2 separate regions of the Homo sapiens genome follow, and region 1 is linked to region 2. Evidence: promoter capture Hi-C in 16 types of primary human blood cells and fetal thymus (Javierre and others, 2016). All regions are on one chromosome and are shown on one strand. The core of a region is centred on a gene start or on the middle of the fragment in contact, and the rest is flanking DNA. Distances in the headings are between cores, read along the strand shown. Region 1 overlaps RARG (retinoic acid receptor gamma). Region 2 holds the start of SLC61A1 (solute carrier family 61 member 1).

What was found. Contacts are between HindIII fragments. The CHiCAGO score rates a contact against its expected background, and 5 or more counts as called.
Region 1: a contact is called between a fragment that was not itself captured here and the fragment with the promoter of SLC61A1 in region 2, in 7 of 17 cell types (activated CD4 T cells, naive CD8 T cells, total CD8 T cells and 4 more). The highest score is 7.3, in activated CD4 T cells.

What each region holds. Positions count from the first base shown.
Region 1 is chr12:53,213,266-53,218,031 of GRCh38, reverse strand. It overlaps RARG (retinoic acid receptor gamma), which reads left to right. Exons shown (of 10, transcript NM_000966.6): 4 at 2,238-2,386; 5 at 2,598-2,739; 6 at 3,426-3,586; 7 at 3,797-3,973; 8 at 4,332-4,536. Among named protein-coding and RNA genes, the nearest start is that of ITGB7, 8.4 kb to the right of the region's middle. RefSeq lists enhancers at 1,152-1,765, 1,980-2,753. The HindIII fragment of the contact is 8,479 bases long and covers 1-4,766 here.
Region 2 is chr12:53,249,520-53,254,262 of GRCh38, reverse strand. SLC61A1 (solute carrier family 61 member 1) reads right to left here and starts at 2,168. Exons shown (of 2, transcript NM_032889.5): 1 at 1,995-2,168; 2 at 1-1,445. The coding sequence starts at 1,427. The coding sequence ends at 75. RefSeq lists silencers at 1,846-1,895, 1,906-2,185 and enhancers at 1,651-2,322, 2,456-2,505. The HindIII fragment of the contact is 5,764 bases long and covers 1-4,743 here.

The DNA of each region.
Region 1 (4,766 bases), core at 2,054-4,553, 37 kb after region 2:
TGGCTGTGTGTCTGTGCCAGAATCCAGTGAGGGTTCTAGGATCCCATTGTAATATGCCTGCTTTGGTGCCTTATGTGTTGTTAACCTGTGAGTGTGTGTGTCTCCAAGGAGGTGTGTGCTAGATTGTGAGTCCAGGCTGCTCAGCTCTGAGCCTCGCAGCTGGGAGCGTTTACAGCCGGTTATAAAGAGTTTGTTTGAAGCTCCGCGCAGCCTGGTCAGGAATTTCCTCAATTTCAGCAATTTGGGCTTTAAAAGGAGAAAACCCCAGAGCCCACCCCCATCCTCCCCAGCAGGGGCCCCTGCCTAACCCAGGAGCTGCATCCCAATGGTGGGGTCTAAGCCCGAGTCTGGGGAGGGGATCTGATTGGAGTAGACCCAGTTAGCTTTCTGGGGCCTTGACCTCACAGATTGACCTCGGAGCCACTAGGCTGCACTTTAGGGTTCAGGGGGTGGGGATGTGACAGTATCACTTAGACAGGAAAAGTTGCCCCCGGGCCTGTCTCCCTAAGGCCCCCAGTCTTATAATTGGCTGGCACTGCCCCATGCCAGTCTGACCGCACCCAGGCCCTTGCGCAAGAGAGGAAATGAGGCAGCGCTCTGCGGGCAGGGAGGGCGTCAGTGCCAGAGTGAGCACCACCCCACGCACAGGCCTTGGGCAGAACACGTGCCCTTGGAGGACACAGTGGTGGGTCTGAGGAGTGAGGAGAGGTTGGGAAAGGCGTTCCAGCCCTCCTCACATCTCTCAGCACCAGCCCCTCCTGGAGCCCCCATCCCTAGTCTTGAATAGACTCCAGGCACCCTTCTTTCCCCCCTCTCCTCTCTCCTTTTTCTTTGGGTAATCTCACTCTGGCAGGATTCTTATGCTAATTGATTGTATGTGTGTTGGGGGTGGGTAGGGCTTCCCTCCTGTGGGGTGGGTGGAGCTAGCGTGGAACCCTGGCATCCTGGGCATTCCTTCCGCCCTTCTGGCTGCGTTGGGGCGGGCTTCTGACCAGGTGGGCTGCAGAGGGTTAGAAGGGAGAAGGTGTTCATGAGGTGGGTGCGTGGGACACACCTTAGGGAGGGTCTTAGGAATTTTTTTGCATTAACTTGGGCCCTCCAGGTTTGGGCAACAGGTCCTACAGGTTGAATAATTTACAAATTTTCCGAGCCTCTGAAGACCAACCACACGCGCGCGCGCGCGCGCGCGCACACACACACACACACACACTTACCCAGCAGCCTTTTGAACAGAGCAGAGCATGTCCTCCCCATACTGTGGGGCTGAGACCCCTTTTGAGCTGCAATTGGGTATTTTCAGAGTGAAGACATAAGCTCAGAGAGGGTCCAGAAACAGGTTCCCTCCCCCATCAGTCCTGTTTACCTACTGTCACCTGACTTCTCCAGTTTGCTACACCTCCAACGGCTTCCAGACCTGAGAAACTGAGCAAACACCTCAGCCTCTGCTTCCCCAGCTTCTCTGACTCACAGCCACTTGGATCTGCTGGTGGTGTGGCACTGAGCTGGTCACTTCCCCTCTCGTGGCCTCAGTTTCTTCAGGCGTGAACCAAGGCTGTGGTGCATCCTCTCACTCACTCCCCTGAGACCTTTGCCCCATTTGCTCCACTGTCTCTGATGGTTATTCAGGGGTAGTGTGAGAGAGATAAGCCTGAGGAGTTATCCCCCCTGTACTACTGGAAAGGAAATGAGGTCCTGGTTTACCTGCTAAGCATCCCAGCAGGTCATTTGGCCAGTAGCAGCTACAGGAAGCCTGTCATTGCCTACCTGCCCCCAGAGTTATTGCCCCACAGGGAGGACAGTGGGAAGTAGACTACCTGACAAAGATATACCAAAGAGACAGAGAGTGACTAGAGAGCTCAGAGCTGCAGGGCTTTAACTCTTCTACCCACCTCCTGGATAGTTAGGGAAACAGGCCCAGAGAAGTCAATTTCCGGAATGGCCTTGGTCTGGAATTTGGAGGATTAAACATGTCATATAGGATGAGGGCTGGCATTCTTGTGAACAAGTTGGTTAGACTGTGGAGGGTAGAGGGTGAACTAGGGTCACAACAAGCTGTGGTAATAGTGGTCATTAAGAGGATTCTGACAGTGCTTACTGCTGGAACTAGTGCACTGTGGTAGTGATGGCTGTCACCAGTGGGCCAAGGAACAAATGCACATGGGGTGTGTGTGATGAGGAAGCCTGGAGGTCTGTGGGGTCCTTCTCCCCTGACCCTCACATCACTGCTTCCCTCCCAGCGGTGGAGACACAGAGCACCAGCTCAGAGGAGATGGTGCCCAGCTCGCCCTCGCCCCCTCCGCCTCCTCGGGTCTACAAGCCATGCTTCGTGTGCAATGACAAGTCCTCTGGCTACCACTATGGGGTCAGCTCTTGTGAAGGCTGCAAGGTGTGTACGTGGTGGGAGTGGGCAGACGGGGGATCCAGTTACCCTAGTAAGATGAGAGACCAGGCACACAGATGCTGTGTCTGAGCAGCACTGCTTTGCACATAGGTGGTTAATAGATTAGGTCAGGCTTGGGGCAACCTGCAAGGCCAGTGAGAGGCTGGTACTCCCAGCATTGTGCTTCAGAGGCCCTCTCTCTTTCCCTCAACTCCAGGGCTTCTTTCGCCGAAGCATCCAGAAGAACATGGTGTACACGTGTCACCGCGACAAAAACTGTATCATCAACAAGGTGACCAGGAATCGCTGCCAGTACTGCCGGCTACAGAAGTGCTTCGAAGTGGGCATGTCCAAGGAAGGTAGGCTGCCATCCTTGGCTTGGGCAGGAGCACTTCGGTCCTACCCTATGGCTGTGGCCCTCTTTCCTCTGGCCACTCCCACTTCCCTGACCTCTGAGACTTGGCCTGCCCTGGGGTGCTGCCTTCTCCCAGGCCAGTCTTATTTGATTAGCTCCATTCAACCAGGAGGCCCCACCATTTCCCATTCTCCCTCTCAGGGAGCTTGACTCTTCCTCTGAATGGGTGAATAAGTAGGGTCTCACATTCCCCCTGTTTCATGGGGGAAATGAAGCCAGTGGGCTTGCCAGTCCCTTTCCCTCCCCTGGACTGAGCCAGAGATGGATATGGGGTGGCTCCTCCTCTCCACCCCCCCCTCGCCCCCATTGTGCTGCCAAGGCTATAAGTGGATATCCTGCCGCCTGCATATCCTGCCCCCCCTCCCCCAGCTCCTGCAGGGTGACAGGAAGGACAGGATGGAGCCGAATGGCCTGGGGAAGGAGCAGGGGCTGCAGGCCCTGGGTGGGGCTGGGGAGAACCAGCCTGGGAATAGGAGCTATTATAGGTGATAGGGAAACTGAGGCAGTAATTACAGTGCCAGAGAATAGATATTCATGATAAGGACTGAGCATATTAAATTAGGGTGAGAGAGGACACCCAAAGGGAGGCTCTGAGGGTCCTGACCCTCTCCTTGCGCCTCCACCCACAAGCTGTGCGAAATGACCGGAACAAGAAGAAGAAAGAGGTGAAGGAAGAAGGGTCACCTGACAGCTATGAGCTGAGCCCTCAGTTAGAAGAGCTCATCACCAAGGTCAGCAAAGCCCATCAGGAGACTTTCCCCTCGCTCTGCCAGCTGGGCAAGTATACCACGGTGAGGAATGGGCAGAGCCCAGTGAGGGCAGGGCACTCTTCACTTTGGGGAATGGGGCTGGGTTGTGTTGGAGGCTATCATCGACTGGTGCTGAGGACAAGGAGGGCATCAGAATGCAGAGGAGAGAGCTTGGGATATTGGTAGAGAGAAGACAGCCCCCAGAGGTGGGCCTTAGCTTGCCTTCCAACCTTCTACCCCTCCCCTCTGCAGAACTCCAGTGCAGACCACCGCGTGCAGCTGGATCTGGGGCTGTGGGACAAGTTCAGTGAGCTGGCTACCAAGTGCATCATCAAGATCGTGGAGTTTGCCAAGCGGTTGCCTGGCTTTACAGGGCTCAGCATTGCTGACCAGATCACTCTGCTCAAAGCTGCCTGCCTAGATATCCTGGTAAGTTAGGCCCTGTGGGTCCTGCCACAGCCCGACCCACATATGGGACCCTCAACAATTCCTTGATCCATGCAAAGATTTCCTTACCCTGCACCCCCTGCCACACATGTGGGACTCCTCAGCTCTCTTTTCGTCTTAGCCTCTGCCCCTATGACCTGATCCTAGACTTTTGGATGCCCTGTCTCCTCCTGACTTCCCGGGACTACCCCTGCCAAGCCTCAGATCCTCCACCTCTGCCTTCTCCATGCCTGCTTCAGGTTGCACTCACTGGGGACCTAACCTCCTCACTTTCCACTCATTCCCTCTTTTCCCCATCCCCCAGAAACAGCACTAACCCTCCTCCACCCCCCACCTCCAGATGCTGCGTATCTGCACAAGGTACACCCCAGAGCAGGACACCATGACCTTCTCCGACGGGCTGACCCTGAACCGGACCCAGATGCACAATGCCGGCTTCGGGCCCCTCACAGACCTTGTCTTTGCCTTTGCTGGGCAGCTCCTGCCCCTGGAGATGGATGACACCGAGACAGGGCTGCTCAGCGCCATCTGCCTCATCTGCGGAGGTGCGGGGGCGCCCCCTGGCGTCTGCTCAGTGCTCAGTCTCCTTTCCCACCACTCCATGCGGAATCTGTCTGGGAGGGGGCGTGGAGGACCCAGTGGTCTCTTCTGCTGGTAATTCTTGCACCTGGCCCCATCCAGAGAGTTCTGAAACCCTGTACAGGCTTCCCAAAACGCCGGTTGGTGATCAGCCATCTGTCACTGTGTCTTCCCCATCTCTTCCTTCCCCTCTCAC
Region 2 (4,743 bases), core at 919-3,418:
CACAGAGAGATCTGTACAATCCCGGATAGCTGGAATTCAAGAGTCTGTCCCAGCTATCTTGTCCTGGAGTGGGGTTACAGCTCAGGGGCATAGGGCTCCTCAGTAGGTGAAGGTACCCGCAGCTCAGCATCATGCCTTACCACGGTGAAGAGTCCCACCACTGCCAGCAGAGCCATCACCATGACAGCAGAGCAAATGCTGAACATATTCCGAGTGCCTGTTTTTCGATCACTGTCATGGAGGACAAGGAGCCCTAGGCAAGCCAGTGAGTGCAGAGGTACCCGGAACCAGTTGAGTACACCAGCCTGCTCTGTCTCAGGGATCACCTTTCTCCGTAGGAAGCTCATGCTGGGAAAGTATAATCCACAAGCCAACTCAATAAGTAGAAAGGCTATGAAGGACTCCACCGGACTCTCCTGGCCTGGGCTGGTAGAGAAAGTCAACATGAAGAGAGAGAAGACGACGATGAGCACAGCAAGGGACAGCAGGTGCATGGGCTGAAGGTGGTACCTCTTGGAGGTGGCGATACGGTACAGGGAAGAGCCAAGCAGGCTGGCTGCCATGAAGCTGGAGAAGATAATGCCCAGAGGGGCCCCGTGTGGGTCCAGCACAGGTGTCCAGAGGAAGACAAAGATGAAGATGACACTCTCAAATAGAGCTTGTATGGTGCCCAACAGCAGCACGCGGCGGTCCGACAGGAGGCAGCGCAGGCCTCCAGCACAGGTCCTTGAGAAGGCACGCTGCCGGTCATAGTTCTCCCCCCAGTTTCGAAGGGCCAAGGCCCCTGCCAGAGCCAGGAGAGGGATGGCAGCCACAAAGGGCGCTACAGGCCCCAGCCCTATCCAGCTGGCTACAGCCTCAGCTGCCACACCTGCCACTACAGCCAGCACATGGTTCCAGAAGGCAGCTCGAGCAAAGGTAGCTGGGATCCACTCAGCAGGGAAGTCATGCCGTTCCACGTGCTCATGGATATACCAGGCCTCGAAGGCTGAGAAGAGCAGGGCTGTGGACAGCCCACCAAGTGCTCGCCCCACTAGCAGCACAAAGTAGTCTTGAGAGAGTTTGGTTAAGCAGCATAGTGAGTAAGTCAGGGAGAAGAGGACACAAGAATTCTTGCGACCCAGCCAATCCACAAGGGAGGAGGCCACTAGGCCAAAGAGGACTGTAGAGGCAAGGCCACAGACATAGAGGATGGCAATTTGACCTTCCAGGAAGTAGTAATGCTGGTAGAGTTTATAGAGGTAGGGGGCCTGAAGCCAATCAGCTGCCAGGGCCAGGAAGTAGACCTGATAGAAGTCCAGTTGAAACCGAAGGAAGGAGGGATTGCTGCAGGCCCTTCCAGGGGGTTTAGCCCGGCATCTTGACAGTTCCAGCCCCAGGCAGGAGGCCAGGAGGCCTACAAAAGCAAGGTAGGCAGTCACCAGCATGGTGGGCCCCCGGACGACCTGGGAAGAGAGGTGGGAGTCAGAGCCATATCCATCCTTCGGGCAGCACGGTCAAGGGGCTGTCTTAAGCAGATGGCAGCTCCACCCAACCCCGCTGCCAACTCCACTCCCCAAGATCTCAGACCGGAGGGACCAGTTGGGTGGGTGGGAGGAGTGGCCACGCCAAAGCTGTCTCCTAGGACACTGTGGGGCAGGGAGGGGTAAGAAGACAGGGGAGAGGACTGGGCACTCAACCCATCCTTGCCTGTGAAGAGGGAGTCCCTTTCAATAATCCCGCTCCCGCAAATTCTACTGCCCTTTCCCACAGCAGCTCCCGTACACTTCCTTCTATTACCTCCCGTCCTCGCTGCGGAGCCTCTTTTTGCCCTCAGTGTCTCATCCTCTGTCCCGGGCATCCCTCCCACCCGCGCAGGCCTCTCGAGTTGCTTCAGGGTCATGCGTGTGCATCTCAGAGGCCCACTCCTCCAGGTCACTGGCACCCCACTGCGCCCCCTAGCCCCTGCCCAGCCCTGCCACATCCACTTGCACCTCGCCCAGACTCCGCCTCACCTGCTGCCCCGGTCTGCGGGGACGCCCCGGACACGTCCGGCTCCAGGCCGCCAGGCCACCCTCCCCGCTGTGGCTCCGGCTCCGGCTCGGGTTCCAGCAGCGCTCCCGCCCCTCACAGCCTGCTTCCGGGAGCCGGGCAGGCCTCTGGCCGCCGCCATGATGGCTTCATCACGTGACGGGGGCGCGGCGCCAAAACCCCGCCCCGCCCCGCCCGCCCGCCCTCCTTCCCTTACCCGGGCGCGGAACTCCTGACGCCTGGGGTGGGTCGGGAAGGGGCGACCATAGGAGGCTGCGGTTGCTTCTCCTGGCCTGGCCTCGCTCGCTGCCATCCCGTGACACCTGCTCCTCTGGCTCTTGGATGCCTGAGGGGCCACCCTGAAATAAGTGCCAATTTTCTTTTCTTCCGTGCAGTGCTCGGGAAAGATGCCCGCAGTCCGGTAGAGCCAAGGGTTGGAGCTTCCTAAGGAACAGCACCGCTGCCCGAAGCCGAGAAGGTCTCCTTGGTTTGCCTCCTCTCCCACTGCAGTGACCTCCATGCAAGAGAAGCCAGTATGGTCCAGACACCTGAGGGAGGCGGTGTGGTGTAAAGAACTTGGAGTCGGGCTGCAGACAGACTAAGGCGCAGTCCTGCCCCTGTCACTTACCAGCTGTGTGGCCTTGGGCAAGCCGCATAACTTCCCAGTGTCCCAGTTTCTTTGAAGTCACAGGATAGCAATGCCCAAATAAAGAAGGCTAAAGTTCAGTGGCAGCATGGGGTTAAGAACTTCAGCCTTGGAGCTTAATTCCCTACCTTCTGCCACTTACAAGCTGTTTTACCTTGGAAAAACTATTTAACCTCTCTACAGCTTCCGTATCATCTCCTCAAGAGCCTCCAATGACTTCCCATCTCACTAAGGGTAAAAGCCGAAGTATTTATAATGGCCTACAAGACCCTCTGTCCTCTGACCCTCTGCCACTCCTCTGACTTCATCCCCTGCTCCTCTCCCTCCCATCTATGTTGGCTACCACCAGGGCTTTTGCACACTGTTCCCTGTACAGTTCTTCTCCAAGATATCCACGTGGTTCCCCCCCCCACCTCCTCCAGTTCTCTGTTCAAATGTCACCTGATCTTGGCTGGGCCTGGTGGCTCATTCCTGTAATCCCAGCAGTTTAGGAGGCTGAGGCAGGCCGATCAGTTGAGGTCAGGAGTTCAAGATCAGCCTGGCCAACATGGTGAAACCCCGTCGCTAGTAAAAAAATATAAAAATTAGCCAGGCATGGTGGTGGGCACCTGTAATCCCACCTACTCGGGAGGCTGAGGCAGGAGAATCGCTTGAACCAGGGAGGCAGAGGTTGCAGTGAGCCAAGATCACGCCACTGCACTCCAGTCTGGGTGACAGAGCGAGACTCTGTCTCACAAAAAAATAAAAAATAAAATAAAATTTTAAAAAATGTCACCTGATCAGAGGGGCCTTCCATGGCCCTCCTGTTTAAAATAGCAACACCACCACCTCCAGCACAGTAATCTACCTACTTTCCTTCCAATTTTCTATTCTCTCTGCTGCTTTTACTCTGCAGTACACTATGTATTTTCCTTGTTTATTTATTTACTATCTTGGCCAGGTGTGGTGGCTCACACCTGTAATCTCAACACTTTGAGAGGCCAAGGTGGGTGAATCACTTGAGGCCAGGAATTTAAGACCAGTCTGGCCAACATGTCGAAACCCCATGCCTACTAATAATACAAAAAATTGCTGGGCGCGGTGGCTCACACCTGTAATCCCAGCACTTTGGGAGGCCGAGGCGGGCGTATCATGAGGTCAGGAGTTCAAGACTAGCCTGGCCAATATGGCGAAACCCCGTCTCTACTAAAATTACAAAAAAATTTGCTGGGCATGGTGGTGTGCACCTGTAATCCCAGCTACTTTGGAGGCTGAGGCAGGAGAATTGCTTCAACCTGGGAGGCAGAGGTTGCGGTAAGCCGAGATTGCACCACTGCACTCCAGCCTGGGCAACAGAGCAAGACTCCGTCTCAAAACAAATAAACAAAAAAATTAGCTGGGCCTGGTGGTGCGCGCTTGTAATCCCACCTACTCAGGAGGCTGAGGTACGAGAATTGCTTGAACCTGGGAAGCGGAGGCTGCAGTGAGCCAAGATTACACCACTGCACTCCAGCCTAGGGGACAGAGCAAGACTTCGTCTCTAAGTAAATAAGTAAATATTTACTATCTCTTTCCCTACAGATTTTTATCTGTTTTGTTCACCTGTATTCCCTATACTTAAAGCAGTCATTGATAAGTATTAATCATAAATATTCCATAAATAGTCTATGAATAAATGAATAAGTTATGTAAATTACTATCAAAAGTACTGGCCCATATTAACATAATAACACTTATCAGTTATTATGTACCTAAGGAGTTTTAAGAAGGTTTAGTCCAACTGCTGTAGGTGAATTATCTCATCTGACTGACAACAATCCATACAGTAGGTACTAACCAGAGTTGGAAAGGTTAGGTAACATGTTTAGAGTTACATAGTAAAAGGCAGTTAGAAGCAGGACCCAATCTTTCCAGTTCCAAGCTCACATAGTTTCTGCAATTATACTAGTTCACCTACTTGCGCAGCAGATCAGTCTTTTTTTTTTTTTATTTGAGACGGAGTTTCACTCTTGTTGCCCAGGCTGGAGTGCAATGGCGTGATCTCAGCTCACTGCAACCTCCGGCTCCCGGGTTCAAGCGATTCTCCTGTCTCAGCCTCCCAAGTAGCT